7 separate regions of the Homo sapiens genome follow, and regions 2, 3, 4, 5, 6 and 7 are each linked to region 1. Evidence: promoter capture Hi-C in 16 types of primary human blood cells and fetal thymus (Javierre and others, 2016). All regions are on one chromosome and are shown on one strand. The core of a region is centred on a gene start or on the middle of the fragment in contact, and the rest is flanking DNA. Distances in the headings are between cores, read along the strand shown. Region 1 holds the start of TP53I11 (tumor protein p53 inducible protein 11). Region 2 holds the start of LINC02696 (long intergenic non-protein coding RNA 2696). Region 3 has its middle 18 kb from the start of CD82-AS1. Region 4 overlaps LINC02687 (long intergenic non-protein coding RNA 2687). Region 5 overlaps SYT13 (synaptotagmin 13). Region 6 has its middle 25 kb from the start of CD82. Region 7 has its middle 5.3 kb from the start of CD82.

Evidence for each region. The method cuts DNA at HindIII sites, captures the fragments that hold promoters and counts their contacts. A CHiCAGO score of 5 or more calls a contact.
Region 2: a fragment that was not itself captured here is called in contact with the fragment with the promoter of TP53I11 in region 1 in 3 of 17 cell types (activated CD4 T cells, naive B cells and total B cells); the score reaches 7.0 in activated CD4 T cells.
Region 3: a fragment that was not itself captured here is called in contact with the fragment with the promoter of TP53I11 in region 1 in 1 of 17 cell types (naive CD4 T cells); the score reaches 5.6 in naive CD4 T cells.
Region 4: a contact is called between a fragment that was not itself captured here and the fragment with the promoter of TP53I11 in region 1, in 1 of 17 cell types (naive CD4 T cells). The highest score is 5.4, in naive CD4 T cells.
Region 5: a fragment that was not itself captured here is called in contact with the fragment with the promoter of TP53I11 in region 1 in 1 of 17 cell types (non-activated CD4 T cells); the score reaches 5.5 in non-activated CD4 T cells.
Region 6: a contact is called between a fragment that was not itself captured here and the fragment with the promoter of TP53I11 in region 1, in 1 of 17 cell types (naive CD4 T cells). The highest score is 5.4, in naive CD4 T cells.
Region 7: a fragment that was not itself captured here is called in contact with the fragment with the promoter of TP53I11 in region 1 in 5 of 17 cell types (neutrophils, naive CD8 T cells, activated CD4 T cells and 2 more); the score reaches 6.6 in neutrophils.

Annotation. Positions count from the first base shown.
Region 1 is chr11:44,949,031-44,952,280 of GRCh38, forward strand. TP53I11 (tumor protein p53 inducible protein 11) reads right to left here and starts at 1,853. Exons shown (of 7, transcript NM_006034.5): 1 at 1,647-1,853. RefSeq lists silencers at 1,623-1,752, 1,783-2,042. The HindIII fragment of the contact is 12,322 bases long and covers 1-3,250 here.
Region 2 is chr11:45,355,066-45,358,143 of GRCh38, forward strand. LINC02696 (long intergenic non-protein coding RNA 2696) reads left to right here and starts at 306. Exons shown (of 2, transcript NR_120558.1): 1 at 306-537; 2 at 1,331-1,592. The HindIII fragment of the contact is 6,359 bases long and covers 1-3,078 here.
Region 3 is chr11:44,621,894-44,624,925 of GRCh38, forward strand. No RefSeq gene overlaps it. Among named protein-coding and RNA genes, the nearest start is that of CD82-AS1, 18 kb to the left of the region's middle. The HindIII fragment of the contact is 4,125 bases long and covers 1-3,032 here.
Region 4 is chr11:45,372,155-45,375,525 of GRCh38, forward strand. LINC02687 (long intergenic non-protein coding RNA 2687) reads left to right here. Exons shown (of 5, transcript NR_122071.1): 1 at 1-686. Among named protein-coding and RNA genes, the nearest start is that of LINC02687, 2.4 kb to the left of the region's middle. The HindIII fragment of the contact is 2,392 bases long and covers 831-3,222 here.
Region 5 is chr11:45,273,717-45,277,024 of GRCh38, forward strand. All of the region lies in intron 1 of SYT13 (synaptotagmin 13), which reads right to left. Among named protein-coding and RNA genes, the nearest start is that of SYT13, 11 kb to the right of the region's middle. The HindIII fragment of the contact is 1,223 bases long and covers 903-2,125 here.
Region 6 is chr11:44,539,617-44,542,617 of GRCh38, forward strand. It overlaps the pseudogene RPL7AP79. Among named protein-coding and RNA genes, the nearest start is that of CD82, 25 kb to the right of the region's middle. RefSeq lists an enhancer at 179-785. The HindIII fragment of the contact is 480 bases long and covers 1,264-1,743 here.
Region 7 is chr11:44,558,894-44,561,889 of GRCh38, forward strand. No RefSeq gene overlaps it. Among named protein-coding and RNA genes, the nearest start is that of CD82, 5.3 kb to the right of the region's middle. RefSeq lists enhancers at 270-906, 2,942-2,996. The HindIII fragment of the contact is 2,347 bases long and covers 230-2,576 here.

The DNA.
Region 1 (3,250 bases), core at 603-3,102:
TGTGACTGGGAAAGAAGCGGCCATGGCAGGGGCCTCCTGGGATGGTGGGGACAGAGGGGGCCTCAGGAACAAGACGACCCATTTTACAGATGGGACAACAGAAGCCTGGAGAATAGTCTTATTTCCTAACAACCCAACAAGAAAAATCTTTTCTCTCCTTTCTCGAAGTCTGGGGCTGAGGCTAAGGAGCGGACAGTGCCCCCTCCTGGCTCTGCAACAAAACGACCCCCGCGTCCCTGGGATCTGCGGGCCGCAGATCCTGGTCCCCTCTCCACAGGCCGTCAGGGGTGGAGGTCCAAGGGACCACATAGTTGGGGTGGGCAGCCCCGGTGACTTCTCCCCGCAGGCCCGCCCCGTCAAGAAGTTTGTTTGAAAGAAACCAATCAGGAAGTGCAGGGTAGTGGGGCGGTGAGGGGGCCTTGGCCAGCCGCTCTGGGCTTTGGAGGAGCCTGGGGGTTCTTGGCCTCCGCGCTGCTCTTGCCCCAGCCTCCATCTCTCCGGCGGAGAAACCCACTCCCCCCGGGCTCCAGGAAGAGGCGGAAGCCCGAGACTGGGTCAGGGCGAAGGAAGGTAGAGCGAGGGGACCCAAGGCGAGCGCCCCGCCCCGCCCCGCCCAGCGGGGCGCGCCGGGGTGGGCGCGGCGTTCTGGCCCTTCCTCCACACAGCCTCCCCCGGGTAGGTGCGAGTGTTCTGCCCACGGCAGGGGCCCTAACCCACCCAGCGCCCGGCCAGTGGCCCCACACTGTACCCTTCCTGCAGATCGCGCGACTTTGGGGAGAGTGGGGGGCGTCTCCACCTGTGCGTCCCCTACCCACCCCCTAACTGGGCTAAGGCGCGGCCTGGGTTTCTGCCCGCCCCTTTCCAGCCTGGGGACGGGGGACTCTCTCAGCCTCGCCCCTCCCCCTGCAATCTGTCCCTGATGTCCCCGCTCCAGACACTCACCCACTTTCTGAGACCCAGGCCTCAGCGCCGGTGTCCCCCGGCGGTGAGCTCCGAGCCGTTAGGCGGCCCCGGGTTCTCCGGCCCAGGGCCCCTGCCCCCAGGCCCCCACCCCAGAAGGTCGGGCCAGACTTGTGGGCAGCGGGAACTCCGCCACCACCTCCGTCCGCGGCCCTGCGGGGGCAAAGACTGGGGGAACTCGCAAGTTTGCGCCGCGCACTCCTCCTGCCGGGAACAATGGCGGGAGGGGGAGGGGACAGAGAACCGAGCGCGGGGGACCGAGTCAGACCCCGGGGAGACAGAAACTGCTTTCGCTCCGTTTCTCTCCTGCTCTGAAGCAGAAAGCTCGAGCCCGAGAGGCAGTGGCCGAGGACGAAATAAGCAGTCCAGGAGGAGGGCGACCGCGGAGCCGGGGGAGAGGGGAAACCGAGTCAGAGGGAGGGGCGGCGAGGGGAGAGCGCGCAGGGGAGACGGAAGGGGCTGCGGGACGGCGCCTTGGGGAGCTGGGGAGGCGACCCCCTGGGGTCCCAGCGGGCTCAGCGGGTGCCGAGATGTCCCGGGGCGCCCGGTTAGCGCGCGCGGGGTCCCGGCCGCCCCTCTGCGGTCCCGTCGGCCGCAGGAGCCCCGCTGGGTTGCGCTGCGCAGGCGGCGGGCGGCGGGAGGGGAAAGTCCGCGGCTCGGAAGCGGCGGCGGGGAGCAGAACTTACGGGCCTCGCGCGTGCCGGCGCTGGGCTACGTGGAGCTGATGCCAGGCGGAGGCTCCGGGCTCGGACGCCTCACATCGCGCCGCCCGTGCCGGGCCGGGCAGTGCAGGGCAGGGCAGGGCAGGGCAGGGCAGGACAGGGCAGGGCAGGGCAGGGCCGGGCCGGCTGGACTGCGCGCGGCGCCCTGCGCGGCCGGGGCTTACCGAGTCTGGCGGCCCGCGCTGGTCCCTCCTCTCGGTTCCGCGCACAAGCCAATGGCGCGCCGTCCCCTCCCACGCGCCGGGCTGCCTCGCCCCCAGGGTGGCCGCCGGGGCGGGCGGGATGGGGGTTGGCGGGGAAACCAGGCTCCCGGCTCCCCCGCGAGGCTCTCCCGGGGGCCGCCTGCAGGGGGCGCACGCGCGCCCGAGAGAAGGCGCCGGGGGAGGAAGCCGCGCGGGGAGACCCTGGCGTGGCCCGCGCCGCCCAGGATGACTTTCCTGGCAAGTTCTGCAGACGGTGCCCCTTTCTTGGGACGATCAACGTAGATGGGCAAACCACACCATCTTAAATAGCCTTGCGGTGTCTCCCGGGCCCAGGCCGGTGCCTGAAATGGAAGGGACTGCTTTGGCTGGCGGTGATACCCAAGTGTGTAATAACACAGTCACGACAATAGTCACCGTTTGCTGCGCACTCTCTGATGCCAGACACCATATGCTAAAGGAGTTACAAGTATTAACTCATTTGATTTTCACAGCAACCCATAAGGGCGCTGTGCTTAGTCCCATTTTACAGGCCATGGTCGTTAAAGTTTGAGTTCACTCAGCCTTCAGGCTTCCAGCCTAGGCCCACCCTTCTCTCTCCCTGCTTGGTGTGACTTGGCCAAATAACATGACCCCACTGTCACTACGGCCACCTTCTTCATACTCCACCCTAAAATCCAGCCTCAGAGATGCTGCTGTCAGTTGCGCTGTCAGGAGGCTAGGATCTTATCTGGGGCTCTAGGACGCTTGTTGGCGCTACAGTTGTCAAACCTTTTGTCTCTACACATCCTATGGGGGGCTGGGGTGAGGATGAGGGTTGGGGGTCATGGAGGCTCTCTGGTGGCGTGTCAACCTGAGAGAACCAGGCTCCTACAGACAAGGCCCCACCCCCAAATTCTGGGCTCCTTCAACCCCTTATGGTGGGAAAATAATGTGCTCTCTCCCACCCCAACCCCCACCACCCTGTGCTCTCCTTAGAGAAATGCCTGGATCTCTTTCATCTGATCTGATGGTCACAGTGGGCCAGGAACCGGGGTGGGGGGCTGCGGGAAAAGGAAGGCAAGGCTGATGACATGCTCCATTTCACAAGTAAATAAGACAGAAAGAGGTGAGTGGCTGCCTCAGGCATCTAGCTAGGTGGGCATTCTGACTCCAGGTCTCGGTTCTGTCTGCACCAGTTCCTTAACGGTTAATAGAGCAGGCTCTGGAACCAGATCACCTAGGTTCAAATCCTGACTCTGCCTTTTAGTGCCTGTGTGGCCTTGGACAAAGTAAGTCACCTAGAGCAACCAATAGTAAGAACCGGCTATGGTTGCTGTAGAGATTTAGAGTTAATAGGAGCTGCTCATGTTTACTGTGCATGGACTC
Region 2 (3,078 bases), core at 538-3,037, 410 kb after region 1:
CATCCTGTGACTTAGAATGCCTAACCTCCTGGGAATGCATCCCAGCAGGTCTCCACCTTCTTTTATGCAGCCCCTATTCAAGATGGAGTCCCTCTGGTTCAAACGCCTCTTGACAGTTCATCTTTTCAGTGTTTCCGGCTAGGAAATTTAAATGTTTGTCCATCTATTCACTGGGCTCTGAAGCACTCATTTAGTACACTGAGAAAGGAGAGGGAGGGGGGATGGGAGGAGGGGAGGAGCAGAGAAAGGAGAGGAGGCGGAGACGGTTAGTCTAGCCTCTCTGTGGGGCCTCTCTGCTGGTACCCAGATGCTGAGCGCTGAAATTCTCATCCGCCACACACAACATGGCGGCTTCCTGGACCCGCGCCCAATTTTCGCTTCCGGGATGGAAGCTACGTCATTTCCCCCTCTGTTGCCCTAGCGCCCCTTGGAAGCCAAGAATATGAGGAAGTCTTCTTCCTTCGCGCCTTCTTCTTCCTTACGCTCCAGGGCAGCCTGACAGAGCCGCTCGAAGGCTCTGCTGGCCGCGGCTAGCCGGTGAGGAGGGTGGGGGGAGGGGCCGTCCCGCGTGTGGGGGAGTCTGAAGGCGACCAACGAGAGGGAGGGCCGGAGCGGGGAGGTGGCTCGGAGGCATGTCCAGTAAATTGGGGATGAAAATCCTCCCAGGAACCCGATTATTAATGGGTTGAGGGAAGTGGCAGGTGCAGCGGTTGCGCAAAGACAATGATGCTTAGTAGCCAGGACTTCATGGCCACAAAATTTGTGTGTAGAGAGGGCCACAGCAGCCTGAAAACCATTTTCGTCCCCTTTTAGGTTTACCCATTCCACTGGACCCAGCCACCACCCACTCCTGCTGTCTGGTAAACTTTCCTCCTGTTTCTGGGGCCATGTCTGGCATGAAGAGTTTTTACTGAATAGTTTTCATTGATCGCAGGCCAGTTCTCTCTTCTCACCCCTTTATTGAAGTGACAGTGAAAATCTAAGTGAGAAAGCACTGTTACAGGGGCTGAAAAGGCTACAGGAGACCAGAGCCATTGACTTTTATTTTTAAAATGAAGATCTCTTTTACTTGAAGGAACTTAAGAATTTTGGCATTCAAATAGGGGCTGGAAGACTTGAAAGCAGTAGAAATTTCACCACAGGTGATAGGAAAGGATGATCACGAAATGAATATCTCCTGACTTGCACACCTAGTGAGCAGAGCCAGGAAGGACCTCCTTCACCTTAGCATTTGGAACAGGCTGCAAAGTTCATTCTTCCTCATAGCAGCCCCTGCATTCAGTTTGGTTTAGTTGTTTTATGTGGTTTCTAGCCTGATTTTTTTTTTCAGGGTGCAGCAGAAGTCTCAGGTAGCTGAGAAGTTCATGGAATCTTCTTATTTGCTACACCTTTCACTACTGCTTGTGATATAGTGCAGGGTTGGGATGTGCAGACATTTCTCAAGTGCACTGTGTACCTACACAGCATGCTGCAATTTGGCTACTGAAGTCAAGAGAAACTGGTTTGAACAACTACTGAGTGTAACATAGGAAGCGCATTTCATTTGATAACAGGAACACAGCTTTTGTGCTAATAAAATGCTTTGAAAATTAGTGTGTGGTCTTTAGTAATTAGCATATACATTTTAGTTATCCATTGGTTCATAACAAACGGACTAAATAGGTACCCCACTGAGTCATTTATCTAAATGAAAAGTTTGGTTAAATTGTAGTTGTAGGCATTGATCAAAGCTAATGGGAAAAAGAGATTAAGATGAAAATCATGGGATTAAATTTTTAATTAGTTTGCCCCTTGGACCGTTGCTTGGTATGACATGGAGATTGATTGGCTACTTATGCCTGCCTGGGAAGATATGGCTCTGCTACCAAACCTCTGAACGTAAGAGTGTTTTGCAAAAAAACTGAATATTTTATTCAGTAATTTTTCACTTTATTCCTGCTTAACAAGGAATTGAAAAGGAAGGCAAGGTCTTGGATCTCATAGTTCTTGGTATAGTGATAGATATAAAGTATGAGATGGGGGCTTCAGTGGGTTCATTAATAAATATCTCAAATTAACATGTCTAAGTCAAACTCTTCCTTTCCTGCCCCCAATCTCTTCCTCTCCCAGGGCTCCTTATGTCAACTAATGGTGCCATCATTAGTGCACTCAAAGCAAAAACCTGGGAACAATCTTGATTCCCTCTTTCATTCCCCACAGCTCACCCATCAACAAATTCGATCCGCTTTTATTCTAAAATATATCCTAAATCCATTCACTGTTCTTATCTCCACCACCCTAACCCAGGCATCATCATCCTTTACCTGGTTAACTGCAAGATCCTTTTCATTTAACTTCCCTGCTTCTAATCTTCTGACCCATTTTCACCATCCCAGTCCATTCACCACACAGTAGCAGCCAAAATATTTGTTTAAAATGTAAGTTAGATTCTATCACTTTTGTGTTTAGAATTATTGTCTTCCCCCACTAATTACTGTGCCCTATGTGATCTGGACTCAATCTGGTACCACTCCCTACCCCTTCACTCACTATAATCCAGACATACTATCTTTCTTTCTTCAACCTGCCAAGTTTTATCCTGCCTTAGGGTCCTTGCACTAGCTGTTCCCTTTGCTGGAACCCTCTTCACCCAGTTATTGCAGAGCTGGCCCTCTCTTGTTTAGAGCTGAATTTCAATGTGACCTCTTCAAATAAGTCCTCCCTTGACCACCCAAACTCATGTACCCCCTTGTTACTCTCTGTCACGTCATCCTGATTCAGTTTCACCACAACACTCATCATTACTGCTATTTTCTTGTATCTTCCTTTGTTTATTGACTGTCTCCTCCCATTAATATGTAAGCTCCCTGAAAATAAACATCTTGTCTATATTGTATGACTGTATCCCCAGAACTTCAAATAGTCTGTGACATATGAATGAATGAATGAATGAATGTACGAATGGATTCTGCTTCCCCAAAGCTGCTGCCATCTCATCTCAGGTACATTGAAACAGGAAGGCTGGTAAAGGCCAGGGGGTCAAATGCTACATAGAGTGGAGCCTGAAGCACAAGATGTGGGCAAAGACACAGTGGAGAG
Region 3 (3,032 bases), core at 44-2,543, 330 kb before region 1:
GAAAACGTCAGAAGTTAGCGAAGGGGTGGGCTGCTTCCTCTGACACGTCCATCCTGCCCAGAGCTCACAGCTGGAAGGGGCCAGAGCCAGGATTTGAACCCCACGTATCTGACTTCAAAGACCATCCTCCTGGCTCCACTGGCTCCTGCCCTTCCAGATTTCCCAGAACAGCCCCAGGACGTGTGTAGTGTGAGGCTCTGACCCTCGCTTTTGTGAAATCTGGTCACTGTGAGCTCTGAGCCTGCTGGGTTCCTCATTTCAACCTCCTGGGGAGCACCCAGTTTCAGCAACCCACTTACTCCCAGCCTGTGAGGTTTTGGGAGGGAGGGAACATAGACCCATGTCTAACACTCAGAATCGTCCCTGCAGCCACTAATCTGTCCCATGCCCATCTGGGGCTTCCACACCTTCCAGCTGCCCTCCCTGGGCCCTCTGTGGGCTGCCATCTCTCCTGCCAAGGGCCCTGACAGGCCCAAAGGACTGGCACATGGGTACCATGTGGAGGAGAGTACAAGGGTGCTCCTTGGCAGTGCCCACCCACAGCTCCCTGGGGCAGCCAGGAAGAATGGCTGGAGCAAAGGGTTGCTCTTTGGGCTCCCGTGGGAGGTTAGAGACAGTGCCTAGGATGTGTTCAGGGAGCTGGACTTTGGGGGGCACTGATTGGCATGGCCACTGACCAATAGGTATGGAAGTCAGGCCTGAGCTGGAATGGGATCCTTACGTATGGATTGGCGGGAGGTGCAGGAGCTCTGAGAGATTGAGCTGGGGGGGAATTTTCAACTGGTGTGGAAATATTTCTCCATTTTATTCATAATAACTGGTATGGCTGGCTGGGTGAGTACTGGTGAATGGCAGCCTGATACATGTGCACATACATGCATGCACTCTCTCACACGCACACACTCGAGGCCCTGAAGGCCCCTGAGGGCTCAGTCCATTCCCAGCTGGGAGGAACCCTAGCTCTTCTTCCCTGAGACTAAGCCATGGGTGGCCCGTAGTGAACAGGGAAAGCCAAGTGTCTTCCTGCCTGGCCTTCCCGGGCCTACACTGCAGAGCCCCCTCTGCCGCTGATCACCATCCTGTCTCCTAGCAGAGCTGCCTCCAGCCTCTGCCCCAGATGATCTTCCAGGTGAGCAGGTCCCCCAGGCTGAGAGCAGCCGGGTGGAGGGGCACACTGGTGACGCTGGAGCATCTAGCCAACAGGCATCTCCTGGGCCAGCGCTCCCATCGCCTTTCTCCCCTGCAGAAGGACAGAGACCCAGGTTGCTACGCTGCCTCGGGGCAAATGTCTGGCTGTTCTCTGGGGTCTTTAGAGGCTGTAGGCTAAGGTTTATTCATTTATTCATTCATTCATCCCATGAATACTTAATGGCACAGACTATTTGTGAAGCACAGTTCTAGGATCTTAGGAACACAGCAGTGAACACACACAAACCCCCTGCCCACATGGCACCTGCATTCTGATGAGTGTAGAGACTCTTGCACACAACTGATGCACCAGGACACACGTGCACACACAGCACACGCATGCACACAGCACACCCTGCCACACGTACACAGGTACGTACCAGCACACACTGCCGACTGCTGACAGCACAGTCTGAGCCAAGTGCTGCTGTGGGATCCCTGGGGCCCATCCAAGGCCCCTTCCTGTGGAAGGAAGTAGAATGAACAGCGCGTCGAACAAACAGGAAAGTAGGAGGAAGTGCTCATCGCCCCTGCCACAGTGCAGGAATCAGCCATTGCCCTGGCAATCCCCTTCCCAACTGAAATCAAATAGAATCAGAGCAGCTGCCACTGGACGTGACAGGCTGTGCAACTTCACCTCTCTTAGTCTTATCGGGAAAATGGGGACTCTCATTCCTCACTCCCAGTGCTGTTGTGGGAGCCAAATGCGGTCACGTACACAGTGAGCTCATTCCCCAAGCAGCCCATTCCAGGACTGGCCCCAGCTTCAAGGGGAGGTTTCCCATCCTCTGGGGGATACCTTCCCTGAGTAGGAATGAGGCCCACGGGAGGACTTTGGGCCTTGGTGCCTCCGGGGCAGGGATGGCTGATTGGCCCAAGGGGCTGGGGCTGGGGCAGGTAAGACCTGTACTCAGCCTCTTGCCTAGTGGGAAGGTGAGCAGGTAGGAGGGCCATTAGAGGACATCTGAGCTGTGAGCACCCCGGCCCCCAGCTGTCCCATCTGACATCATTTCCCCAGCACCTGCCTTCTGAGCAAGGGGAATGTCAGGCCCAGAGCCAAGTGCCTCTCCCCAAGTGACCTCAGATGCTTTAAGCAGTAGCCCCTGGGATAGGAGTGGGCTTCCTGCAGGATGCTGGGGGCAGAGGGGCGGCCAGCCAGAACAGCTGGGAGTGCAGAGGGGCTGTGTGGAGGTGGGGAGTGGAAGGAGAGAGCTGGAGAGTCTCCAGCAGCCTCTTGGAGGACTGAGTGGGCGGGAAGGGATGTTAGTGGCAGCTGATAGGAGTGGAGGGGTCCATCCTCTGCCCTTGCATCACACACCTGGGTGAGCCCAGCTTGGGGCTTCCAGGGTGACAGGGGCCCTGTGATCCCAGCACCCAATCCTCTTGGTCCTGGTTCATAGAGGACTCAGGCGCTTGGGGTGGTGTCTGAGTTCTTTCCATGGGGAAGCTGTCGAGGAACCCACTTGGTGGGTCAGTGGGGGTCTGGTAAAATGGAAGGAGAGAGGCCTGTATTAGTCCATTTTCACCCTGCTGATAAAGACATACCCAAGACTGGGCAATTTACAAAAGAAAGGGTTTTAATGGACTCACAGTTCCACGTAGCTGGGGAGGCCTCATAATAATGGAAGAAGGCAAAACGCACGTCTCACATGGTGGTAGACAAGAGAAGACAGAATGAGAGCCAAGCAAAAGGGGTTACCCCTCATAAAACCATCAGATCTCCTGTGACTTATTCACTACCACAAGAACAGTGTGGGAGAAACCGCCCCATGATTCACTTATCTCCCACTGGATCCCTCCCACAACACATGGGAATTATGGGAGTACAATTCAAGATGAGATTT
Region 4 (3,371 bases), core at 777-3,276, 420 kb after region 1:
GCATCCTCCCCACTCCTAACAGACACTTTGGTGCTTCCATGAAACCTGGATCTAAAAGCTCTGTGCTCATTAAATCTACATATAACTCTCCAAGGAAATAGTATCCCCATTTTTATAATACCAAGCTAAAGGCCAGAGAGGGAGAGTGTAGGATCACACAATTTTTTTTTTTTTTTGAGATGGCGTTTCACTGTCACCCAGGCTATAGTGCAATGGCGTGATCTCAGCTCACTGCAACCTCCACCTCCCTGATTCAAGTGATTCTCCTGCCTCAGCCTTCTGAGTAGCTGGGATTATAGGCGCGCGCCACCACGCCCAGCTAATTTTTGTATTTTAATAGAGACGGGGTTTCACCATATTGGCCAGGCTGGTCTCCGAGCTCCTGACCTCAGGTGATCCGCCTGCTTTGGCCTCTCAAAGTGCTGGGATTATAGGCGTGAGCCACCGCGTCCGGCCCAGGGACACGATTATTAAAGGGCAGAGAGCCAGACTGGGGAGGCAGGTGTGCTCCATTCCCAAGCCCATGCTTGCCCTGGCTCTGCCGGGAAGACAGTAGGTGCTTTGCTTCCTGAGAAAGGTCAGGAAGAGGCGTGGCTCCTCCAGCTGTACAGACGACCAGGCCAGATCCACATGGCCCCGTTTGGTGCTTGGATGTCTGGTAAACTGCCTGCCAAGGAGGAACGCAGGTAGGACAAGAAAACTGTGGGTGGTGAAACGCATGGGGAATGGGTTCTGTGCCGCCAGTGAAATGGTCTTTCAGCCGCCAGGCTCCAACTTGGCTGACTTTAGAAGAAATCAGCCAGCCATGGATTGCTGGAGATTCAGACACAAGCTTTCCAGGCCCTGATGAGTCCTTGTTTTCTTCCAGGACAACTGGGTTTTGGGACTGTAAGCTATGACCCAGATCTTGGTTCCCATTTCGCACATGAAGAGAAGATTGGCCCTTAAAAAGCAAAATGCTTTAAAACAAAAACAAAGAAAAGAAAAAAAAGGAATTCATTTTTTTGCTTGCAATTTATTGTTTTCTTATAATCTTATAATGACCATCAATTTGGATTCAGAAATACCTGCATCAAAAGGTCATATCGGTGCTAAGACCTGACTTCCCTGCATCTCAGTTGCCTCCTCTGTAAGATGGCATCACAAACACTCCCCATGCCATCGGGCTGCTGTCACTGGTTCTTGTGTGTGGAAATGTCAATCCCAGGGCCTGAGGTGTGCAAAGTCAATAGTGGTTCTCTCCCCACTTCCACCCCCCAGTTTTTCTCAAAGCCTGTTGAATGTATGATGTGTCCTAAATGGAAGTGCTTCCACGGGGCACTGAGAGGATGGGTGATCTCTTCTCACTGCAGTCAACTGGCTGAAACGCTCACCTTTTCATCTTAGCATGTGAGATGTGACACTCTGATCCCCGGAATTGTAAATTCAGACTCTCAGAGAGCTCAGGATGGCAAAATCCAACCTCTTCGTTTTTAAGATGGGGAAATTGGTTTGCACAAGGTCATGCAGCAGGTTTGTGGCAGAGCTGGAACCCACACCTGCTGATTCCCAACCTGGTGCTCTGTCTGTCATCCTGGGTGACAAGGAGCCATGGAGGCCGCAGGGAGGAAGGACCATGGGATGCTGTCTTGATCCCTCTGGCCTGTGACTGTGAGGGAGGCTCACTCTGCTCTGTGAGCCCCATCACATGGGTGTCGTGTGTGATGGTGAGTGGTGCCTCCCTTATAGAAACGAAACCCCAAGAGCCAGGAAGAGCCCATCATCATCCAGATTCATAGGGAAAGCCAGCTCCTATCAGAGGCATCGAGGGGTGAGGAGGCCTGCCAAACTTGGAGTTGAGTCCCATTCCTGCCTCTTGCCAACTGTGTGCCCTGGGCAGGGGATTTCTTGAGTTGAGCCTGTTTCCTTACGAACTGAGGAGAGTAGAATTACAAACCCATAGGTTAATGTGAAGATTCAACAAGTTAATATAATACTAATACTTAATGAGCATTTACTATGTGTCAGGTTGGGTTCTAAACTCTTTATATGTATTTGCTTATTTAATCTTCATAACAACATAGTTTGCTGCTAAGGGAATGGAGGTTCAGGATGGTTAAACAAACCCCAGGGACAAAACTGGAGAGGACAGTGTAGATTTTGAGCCCAGGTAGCCTGGCTCTGGCACTCTACTCTTAACCACTGTGCTCTTTGACCTCAATTTCGGCAGAATCCAGTGCTTAGCACATAGAAGCTCCAAAAATGTCCACCCCTCCCTTGCTGTCTGTAACCAGCCTTCCTCATCCACCCCTTCTGGACCTCAAGAGTGGGTTCTAGAAGCAGGGTTCTGTTATTTCTCAGACACCAAAAGTTGACCCAACTCGATTGCTCTATCTTGAGTTATTTTACTTCTCTGTTTTGTTGTTGGTTTTGGTTTTTATTGCCTTTTCTTTGATCAAAAGCAAGACTGAATTGCCTACAAAGGCAAATCTGATTCTGTGCTCCTGAGCACCAAGTGAGCCTCAGCGATCGGCTCAGCTTAGCTCCTAATGCCAACCAGTGAAGGAGCATGGTTTCTTGGTTTCTAACTGCTCACATTCATGGCTAAACCCCCAGCCCTAGACGAGCTTCCTTGACCAATCTGGGGGAAAAATACACCTTCTTGATTGTGGGTTTCTGGCGACACTTGTTCAATTTCCTGGTTACTATAGAGACCTTGTCAACACATCCAAATACTCTTCTTAGCAAAGAAATTTTCTTCTCCCCAGTCTCTGCATAGCCCCAAAGAACACAGGGTCTCAGGAAGAAGCAGGAAAGGCTTAGCCTATGGGCCTTCTGAGCCCAGCCCAGGCTCTGGTTCCCTTTCAGCTGCTTGCAGACTTTGAGCCTACAGAGGATAAAATGAGGGAATGAACAAGGAGCGCTGTTTGAGTGGGACTGAGCTTCAGGGCAAATAAAGGGAAGTGAATCAGAACAATGGAAAATCTGGCCAGGGTATTTAAACATTCAAATTTCTTTCTTTTTCCAGTGACCTAAGGACAGGCAATCTGCACTGGGAATCTGGATCCCTTACTCGTAATATTATGGCTGGAAGGGCAAGGTCAAGACTCCCAGTGGACTGGATACTAGGGTTGGGTCTCAGGTCTGCTCCTGATGGCCGAGGCCAGCAGCTACATTGCATTTATACAAATGGTTAGCGGAGCTCCCAAGCTGGCTCCTGTCTTTCCATCTCTGCTTATTGAAAGCTTACCCATGCTTTATGACCCTGCTTTGTTGCCACCACCTCCAGAAAGACTTAGAATCGATCTCCTCTTTTGCCCTTGTACCTCTCATTATAATCTCATCTCTCATCACCTCCTGCCCGACGTCATGGTTGCTTGTATGTCTGCCTT
Region 5 (3,308 bases), core at 264-2,763, 320 kb after region 1:
AAGACATATTTATTGAATGAATAATCATCCTAGAAGTGGAATGTTCATGTTCCCCTTTTCATTCTAACAGACACGTTTCATTTATCACGTCTGGAATACTGTTAATGAATTTTTTCTTTCCCGCATGGTGAATAGACAAGTCATTGCTTTGGTAAAGGATAAATAAGAAAATAATTAACAGATTCTTAAAAATATCCTTTGATCAAAGGCAAGTGCTGAATCCGTTGGGTGCTTTCATACGTGTCATCTCATTCATTCTTCCATATAACCTTAGAGAACCTTGTAGAATCCCTGTTTCATGAATGAGCAAAGTGGGATTCAGAATGGCTGTGGTGATTTGGCTAGGAGATGGTGGAGTCTGAATTCAAATTCAGGTTTTTGAGTCTCATTTGATTCCCATTTTAGCTCAGCATCTTGATTATAAAAGTGAACATTTTCATTCTGAGTTAATTTTTTCTTTCGAGTAGTCTCAAAGATTGTTACCTAAAATTAACTCCAATGGGTACCCAAAAATCAAATGCAAGGCTACAATGTGGTGGGATTAGGCTAGGCACCTAACCTCACGTTCATTCCTTTCTGTTCTTTGTCTCTATGTGTTTTGTATGGAGGCTGTTTTGCAAAGGGTGATAGTCATGTTGCCACTTAAAGAATCTGCTCCATTTGTTAGTAAGTAAGAGACGAGATCATTAGATGATGCATTGCAAAGAATGTGCAAAGAAACCCTCCAAATCATGTGAATATTTTCTCCTCATGTCACATCACTGCCTTCACTGTATTCCTCTCTGATAGCTTCCCCTTTCCTCTATGTGAAGTGACTGTGCTGGAAATCAAAGTGTATTTTAAGATGCTCCGCGATATGCTCTGAGAAGCAGGGTGCAGGGGGCATTCAGAAATGCAGAATAAGCTTAAAGCTAACAGAAGATATTCTACACTTGCAGCTGTTTCAATCAACTCTTCCAGTTGCCTTACCAAACCGCTTTTACCCAACCTTATCTGCATCTTCAAACACCATCTTTTCCAAAACATCCTTCTTAATTCTATTTGAAAAGCAAAGTCTTTGCAATCCTGCCTCAATAAACCTACAGCCTTTACATCGTGCTGTTCTTACCAGAGAGTCCAACCTGTGTGGTTTATAATGCTCTTCCAAATAAAACATCTCCCTGGGTATTACCTCATTGGCCTTGCAGGTGAAGATTTAAAAAACTCTCTCTAACGTTAGCCAGATGAACAGAGACCTGAAAGGAGAGAAACCTGTAAAAAGTGAAGTTGCCACATGCTTCCTGCTGGTCTTGATTTCTTGATATATCACTAAAGGCAAGCATAGAGATCCTTCGGTGGACTCAGCACCCTCCCCTGCTTCTCTGTGCCTGTGGTTTTCATTTTGGCTACAAGCAGAGGTGGCAGCCCCACAGATCCCTACCTCCTCATTTGTCTACCCATCCATTCATCAATGTATTCAGTCATTCAACATGTCTCCTCACTTCTCTTTGCCATGTGCTAAGTCCTGCTCAACTTTCTGTGACAGAAAAAGCATGTCTTGGACTTAATGAGTGGAGGTGGGGATAGGGAGAGGAATCAATGAAATATGTCAAAATATTCTAGGGTCTATGCCAGATGGACTGACTCAATTTCGCAGAATTCTCACAGGACCCCTCTCTCCTTTACGCTTGTTTTCATTCATATTCATATATGCAACTCCCCCTCATTATTTGACTCTGATCTGTTCCTAAAAACATGGTGATTAGCAGATTTCAGAAAGCAGGCACTGGTACTCCATTATTTTAAGGGAAAAATTATAATGCATTCCAAGTCTACCCCAAAACCACAATCAACTTCCCCAAATATCATTGTAACATTCTTAAGCAGTGTGTAAAAATCTCCCAGGACTTTTCTATAACATAAGGCAATTACAGCACCCTTTATCTAATGAATTGGGACTTATTGAACTCCTCCTGAAGGTTCATTGTGTGGGCAGCAACTGGCCCTGGAGAGGGGCAAGGCTCCTCCAGGCATCACACTGGCCTGGTAAGGAAATATTGAAAGACCCTAAATACTGCCTCAATTAGATGGGGTTTGCAGGGCCTGGGTATTGGGGGGAATTTTAGTGGGACCCATGAGGGGCTAAAGCTTGGGGGAACAGAATGGGAAAGATGACAATAATAACATATTTGACAGACAGAGCAGCAGGTGCAAACTTGCTGGAAGAACAGGGCAGCCAGGACTACTGCACACACACTCCATTCCTCTCACGAGACTCATGAACAATGAAATGTTTTTACGGGTTGCCCATGTGGACTCATTTTAATAGTTGCTCAATACAGACAGCAAATGTTTGTTGAAAACTCGCCAGCTACTGTGGTTTTTGGATATATACCCAAAGGATTGTAAATCATTCTTCTATAAAGACACGTGTACATGTATGTTTATTGCAGCACTGTTCACAGTAGCAAAGACTTGGAACCAACCCAATGCTCAGCAATGATAGACTGAATAAAGAATATGTGGCACATATACACCATGGAATACTATGTAGCCATAAAAAAGGATGAGTTCATGTCCTTTGCAGGGATATGGATGAAGCTGGAAACTATCATTCTCAGCAAACTAACACAGGAACTGAAAACCAAACACCACATGTTCTCACTCATAAGTGAGAGTTGAACAATGAGAACACATGGACACAGAGAGAGGAACATTACACACCGGGACCTGTCAGTGGGTGGGGGACTAGGGGAGGGATAGCATTAGGAGAAATACCCAAGGTAGATGACAGGTTGATGAGTGCAGCAAACCATCATGGCACATGTATATCTATGTAACAAACCTGCACGTTCTGCACATGTATCCCAGAACTTATAATAAAAATTTTTTTAAAAAAACTTGCCAGCTACTGATGAATATTTTAAAAGTGAGAATTTGGGGTTTTTTTTTAGATATTAAAAGCTCAGAAAATACCGCAAAGAGATACTACTTTGCACCCAGTAGGATGACTTTTTAAAAAAAAAAAATAAATAAAATAAATAAAAATTAAAATACCAACTGCTAGCAAGGAGGTGGAGAAATGGGAACTGTCATACATTGCTGGTGGAGATTAAAATGGTGCAGTTGTTGTGGAAAGCAGTTTAGCGATTCCTCAAAATGTTAAATATAGAATTACCATATGACCCAGCAATCTCACTCCTAGGTATATACTTGAAAGAATTGAAAACAGTTACTCAAATATTTCTACAGGAATGTACTTAGCAGTACTATTCACAATGGCCAAAAGGTAGAACCAATCCAAATGTCCATCAATGGGTGAATGGATA
Region 6 (3,001 bases), core at 254-2,753, 410 kb before region 1:
CTCTGGATTCCTAAGGAACCATCAAAAGCTGCCGACCCCAGTGTGGAAATCAGTGCATGCATGACATCGATAGGTCTTAAGCAGGGAAGAGGGAAAATTCTTTTTGAAGGAGAATTTGTATCATTTTAATGATTTTTATGTACAGAAAATGAAAGTGTACATTTAACCCAGTTAAGTGGCAAGTTCTTTAACCTTTGCCTTTTCCAACTTGGCAATGCAAGCCATAGATTTGGGACCCAGGATATTGCCTCCCCAGTGACGACGGATATCATCATATCTGTCGTTGTAATTAGTCCTGACAGCTTCCACCAGCTTCATCAAAACTCCTTTGTCTTCTGAGTTAACCTGTGTGAAGGCAACAGTGGTGCAGGTCTTCCTGTGGACTGGACGTTCCAGTCTTGCCTTCCCCTTGATAATGCAATCAGAGACCCACATTTTACAATGCAGGGCAGGCAGGAAGACAACAAGCTCGATGGGATCCTCGTCATGTCAAGTGCTACTCAAAATGGTTAGGCCCATTGTCTCCAAGCTACCTGCTGAGAGGTGATCGGCCTAGCATGCACACTCTTCTCTGCGGGAAGCAGCAGGCTGGCAACCAAACGTCTGTTCACATGCAGTCATCACTGGCTGAGCCTTCTTGTTCTCCACCAAGGGGTAACGGTGTTGACTCCTGCTTGAAGGACAGGTAGTCTCTTAGTGAGGATGTCCCCTTTGCTGTCAGCTTTCTTCTCAGCCTGGGCCAACAGCCTCTGCTTCTACTCTTGCTTTGTCTCTGGTCTGTATTTGTGGGTCAGCTTAGGCAGCTGAGTAGCTGGTGGTCCAGGTCCTGGGTGAACTGGTTAATCACAGGGGGCACTTTCAGCCACTTATAGAGGATGGCTCTCTGCCGCTGCAACCTGATATAGCAGGGCCATTTCACAAAGCGGCTGAGGTCACTTTTGGGCTGGATGTCCAGTGCCAAAATTCTTAGGCCTTTTCTTAACAGAGGGGATTCACCACTTTCTTGGTCTCCTGCTTCTCCATGACAGCAGGGGCCGGGGCCACTTTCTTCCCCCTGCGCTTCTTTCCTCTTGGCATCTTGGGAAGGTGGAGGAGCAGAAGAAAATAGATTTATGTGTTGCAATGGTTACTCTAGGGGTGGAGCAAGGAACTCAAACCAGAAGCTGTGATCAGATTTGGGAGGTGAACTGGGGAGGGAGTAGAGGGCACAAGAGCAGAGGAGGAAGGATGATCTGTGTTCACTGAGGAGATCACGTGGTCATAAGCTTGATTTTTAACTTACTTGGAGTGAGGTATGTGTCTAATTTGTCTCTTGAGCCAATCAATTTATTCACAGCCATTTGTAGAACATCTACTATTCACTGTTCTCAATGCTGGGGACACAGTGGGAAACAAGGACATAGGTCCTGCTTTTATGAGGCTTACACTCTTGTTGTGGGAGGGGGTCTAATAATGACCTAATAAGTAAATAAGATGAAGATGGTGATAAATATCATAGGGCAGATAAAGCAAAGCAATGTGCTGAGAGAGGCCAACCCAGCTGGTTTGAATTCTTACGCTGCCACTGGCTGTGCAGATCTAGGAACTGAGTGTTTCTGGCAGAGGGAATGGCAGATGCAAAGGCCCCGAGGTGGGAAGGTGCTTGGGGCATTAGAGAAACAGAAAGTGTGACTGAAGCATGAGAGGAGAGGAGGTCAGACAACTAGGCGGGGGTTAGAGCACATGCCTAGAGAAAAAAAAAAAAGCTTTGATTTTTGTCCAGGGCAATAAAACACTGTAGGAAAGTTTGGGGCAGAAACATGATAAGGTCTGATTTGCATTTGTAAAGTATCACTCTGACTGCTGAGAGGAGAAGGATTGTAGGGTGGCAAGAGTGAAAGCCAGGCTAAGTGTGGTGGCTCACGCCCATAATCCCAGCATTTTGGCAGATCCAGGTGAGAAGATCACTCAAGGCCAGGAGACCATCCTGGGCAACATAGCAAGACCCTGTCTCTAAAAAAAAAAAAAAAAAATTATCTGGGTGTGGTGGCACGTTTGTAGTTCCAGCTACTCAGGAGGCTGAGGTGGGAGGATCACTTGAGCCCAGGAGTTGGAGGCTGGCTGCGGTAAGCCGTGATCACACCACTGTACTCCTGCCCAGACAACAGAGTGAGACCTTATCTCCAAAAATAAAAAATAAAAATAAAAAAGACTGAAACCAGGGAGTTGAGTTGTCCAGTTAGGAGATGATTGCATTAAGCCAGGAGGGCGATGACGGTGACTTGGAACAAAAGGGTGGAAGGAGGCAGATCAAAAGCATTGGAAGGTAGAGGTGGCTGGGCTTACTGAAGGGCTGGAAATCGGGGTGGATGGGGAAGATATGTCAAAGGAAGGAACCAAGGGTATGTCCTAGAATTTGCACCGTGGATGAATGGTGCTGTGACTTACTTAGATGAGGATGACAGGAGGAACAGGTGTGGGGCAGATGCTAAAGGGAAGAAGAGTTCCACATGTGGTTGCATGAGAAGAGATGAGACATAAAAATGCATATATGAGTCCAGGAACTGTTGAACAGATCAGATCTGGAATTATAAATCTAGCTGTCATCTCATGAAGAAAAGGTGATCCATGACCAGGGAGAAGTGATTCACAATTCTATATCCAGCCATAAAAAGAGCTCCCATCGATATCGCTATTAACACCACCAATGTCAATGCCATTCTTGCATTACCATTGTTGTCATCAGGATCACCACCATCATCAGCAACACAATCATCACTATCACCACCACCACCATCATTATCATCACCATAATGACCTCTCATTACCTCACCATCACACTTCACCATTCTTCTCATCACTACAGTCATCACTCCCATCATCACTGTAGCAACCAGCATCTGCATCATCATCGCTATAGCAACCGCCACCTCCATCGTCATCACCATAGCAACCATCTCCATCATCACCACCATAGCAAACACCATTACCATCCTCATCACCATAGCAACCACATAATTCT
Region 7 (2,996 bases), core at 153-2,652, 390 kb before region 1:
TGTCTTTGTGCATAGTTCATATTATGCAAAATGGCTAATAAAATAGTACATACATATCTATTATAAACAAATGACATATATTGGGATGTATATAACCCTACCATGGGTTTAAGCTGATGCCTAAAAAGAAAAATAAACGGGTAGAACAGGGAATTTGGGGAGGGGGGGACATGATTTAATAGTTTCAAAGACTTACCCAAGTGCCACAGTTGTAAGATAAATATAAATAAGCTTTAGAATATGTAAAGTGCTACGCAAATGCTAGTTATCAAATTAGTTAAATATATTTAAATTAGTTATTTTACAGCTTACTTTTAAAACGGTGGCTGCCATTATTAGTGTCGTAGTTGCTATGGCAACATGGCAATGTACAGGGGCTAAAAGCCCCCTGAAGAGTAACCCCTGGACCTTCAGATGTAGTAGGCGGCAGGGCAGGATTTGAGCAGGGGCCTCACTGATCTTTCTGAAATGACTGAGACAGGAACAAATCAATGGCTCAGTGTCTTCTGTGGGAACTCAGCCCCTGTCCTCAGCTACAACCCAGCTATAATGGGCTTAGAGTTCCAATCCCCTTTAAGTGCTTTGGAGAAAAAAATAAAGGTCGGTGGTCCTGCTGAGCCCATTCAAATGCAGGAATGACTGTGTTCAGGAATAGAGAAATGGAAACAGAAAGTGTGGGAAAGTGCTATTAACCACTTCCTGGCCTGAGACTCGGCAAGAGGACAGAGGATAGGGCGGGGTTATGCCAAGCAAGTGCTGGAGCCCAGCTTTCTGGGGCCAGCCTTCTTTCTGTAAGCAGGAAGCAGGGTCCCTTCAAGGCCCTGGGGAACCTCCTTGATCCAGTGCGAGCTTTTGCGATTCAGTGTTGGGCGCTCACTGGGTCCCAACTTGGGCCTTTCCCCTAGGGCTCAATTTCAGGAACTGAAAATTGGGTTAGCTATATATAAGCTGCAACTTCACTTTCCTCCATCACTTGTTAGTTGTATGACTTTAGCATCTGAGTGCTCCATTTCCACATCTTGGGAATGGGCCTCATAATAGTATGTGCCTCACTGGGTTGTTGCTATCAGGATTAAATGAGTGCAATTTTTAAGTTTGTAACTTTAAGGAAACAGTGCAGGTTTAGGGAGGGAAGTGCTAACTCTATTCTGAGGACTCTTGAAGAAAGATCTTAAGACATCCACTTACTAGGCCAGGCGCGGTGGCTCACGCCTGTAATCCCAGGATTATGGGAGGCCGAGGTGGGTGGATCACGAGGTCAGGAGATCGAGGTCATCCTGGCTAACATGGTGAAACCCAGTCTTTACTAAAAACACAAAAAAATTAGCTGGGCGTGGTGGCACACACCTGTAGTTCCAGCTACTCACAAGGCTGAGGCAGGAGAATCACTTGAACCTGGGAGGCAGAGGTTGCAGTGAGCCGAGGTCGCACGACCACACTCCAGCCTGAGCAACAGAGTGAGACTCCATCTAAAAAAAAAACAAAAAAAAGACATCCAGCTACTCAAGACCAGTTGTCCACTGCTGAACTTCTTATTCATTTGTGCACAAATGCTTGTGTGATACATACTGTATACCATTTTTTAAAACAATCAATTGAGTTTGAACTCTCAGCTCCCATCAGAGAAACCCTCCTCCAGTCATTCTGAGGACTCGCTTGGGGCAGATTGTATTTTTCACAGATGGCTGCAACAATATCTCCTTTCTTGAAAACTCTTCTAGAATTTTGTTACCCCCTGGTTAAGAAAGAGACTATGTACCCTGCTCTTGAACCAGGGCCTTGGTGACTGCTTCTACTAATAGGATGCAAAGGAAGTGATCCTATATGACTTCTAAGGCTAGGTCACAAAATGCCATGCACTTCTAAGTGAGTCTTTGTTCTTCAAAACCGGCAGCCAAATTATGAAGAAGCTCAAGCAACCTGTGGAGCAGCCTCATGGAGAGGACCAAAGGCCTCCACAGCTCTGGCTGACCTCCCAGCTGGCAGCAAGTGCCAACTTGCTAGGTGTGTGAGTACACCATCTTGAAAATGGATCCCCAACCTCCAATTGAACCACCTGACATTGCGTAGAGCAGAGATAAGCCGTTGCTGCTGAGCCCACCCCAAACTGCAGATTTATGGGCAAAATAAATGAGTGGGATGGTTTGTTACATAACAGTAGGAAACAGATACCCGCACTCATTCTCTTTACCTTCCTCCACCAGAGATGTGCAAAAGTCTTGGGGCCTTAACCTAGGCCCAGACACTAACAGGGAACTGGCCCCCATGTTCTTGCCTACAAGTTCTTTGAAGTCTCCTGCTCAGCTGTTCATCTTCCACCTTTGGGGTGGGGGAATCTTCTGAGAGCCTGGCAATCCTATAGCCATACCTCTCTGAGGTCTTGCCACACCACCGTCTTCCCCATCTCCAAGTTGGCCATGGATATCTTCTCTCAAGGCTTTCTAGGGTGGTTCTTCTCACCCCTTTTCCCACCTCCAGAACTCCTGGCTCCACCTCTAGAATGGACTAGAGGTAGAGTCTCACTAGAAGTGTCTGCGCTTTCTGCCTGGCAAAATGCCCAAGGTGAGTCATGACAAAGCTTGCCTTCTGCTGGAAGAGAGGGGATAGGGACAATGCTGAGGGAGCCAACCCAATGTGATATTTCAGTGAATGACTCTGCTATGGTTTGAATGTATTGGAAACTGAATCCCCAAATTCATATGTTGATGGTATTTGGGGGTAGGGCCTTTGGGAGGATTAGATAAGGTCATCAGGATGGGGCCCTCATGATGAGGACTGGTAGCTTTATAATAGGATGAAGAGAGACCTGCGGTGGCATGCCCTTGCCCTCTCACCATGTGATGAGTCAGTAAGAAGGCTTTCACCAGATGTAGCCTCTCAACCTTGGAATTCCCAGGCTGCAGAACTATACAAAATAAAATTCTTTTATCGATTACCCAGCCTATGGTATTGTGTTATAGCAACAGAAAATGGACTAAGTTAGACTCAGATGCACA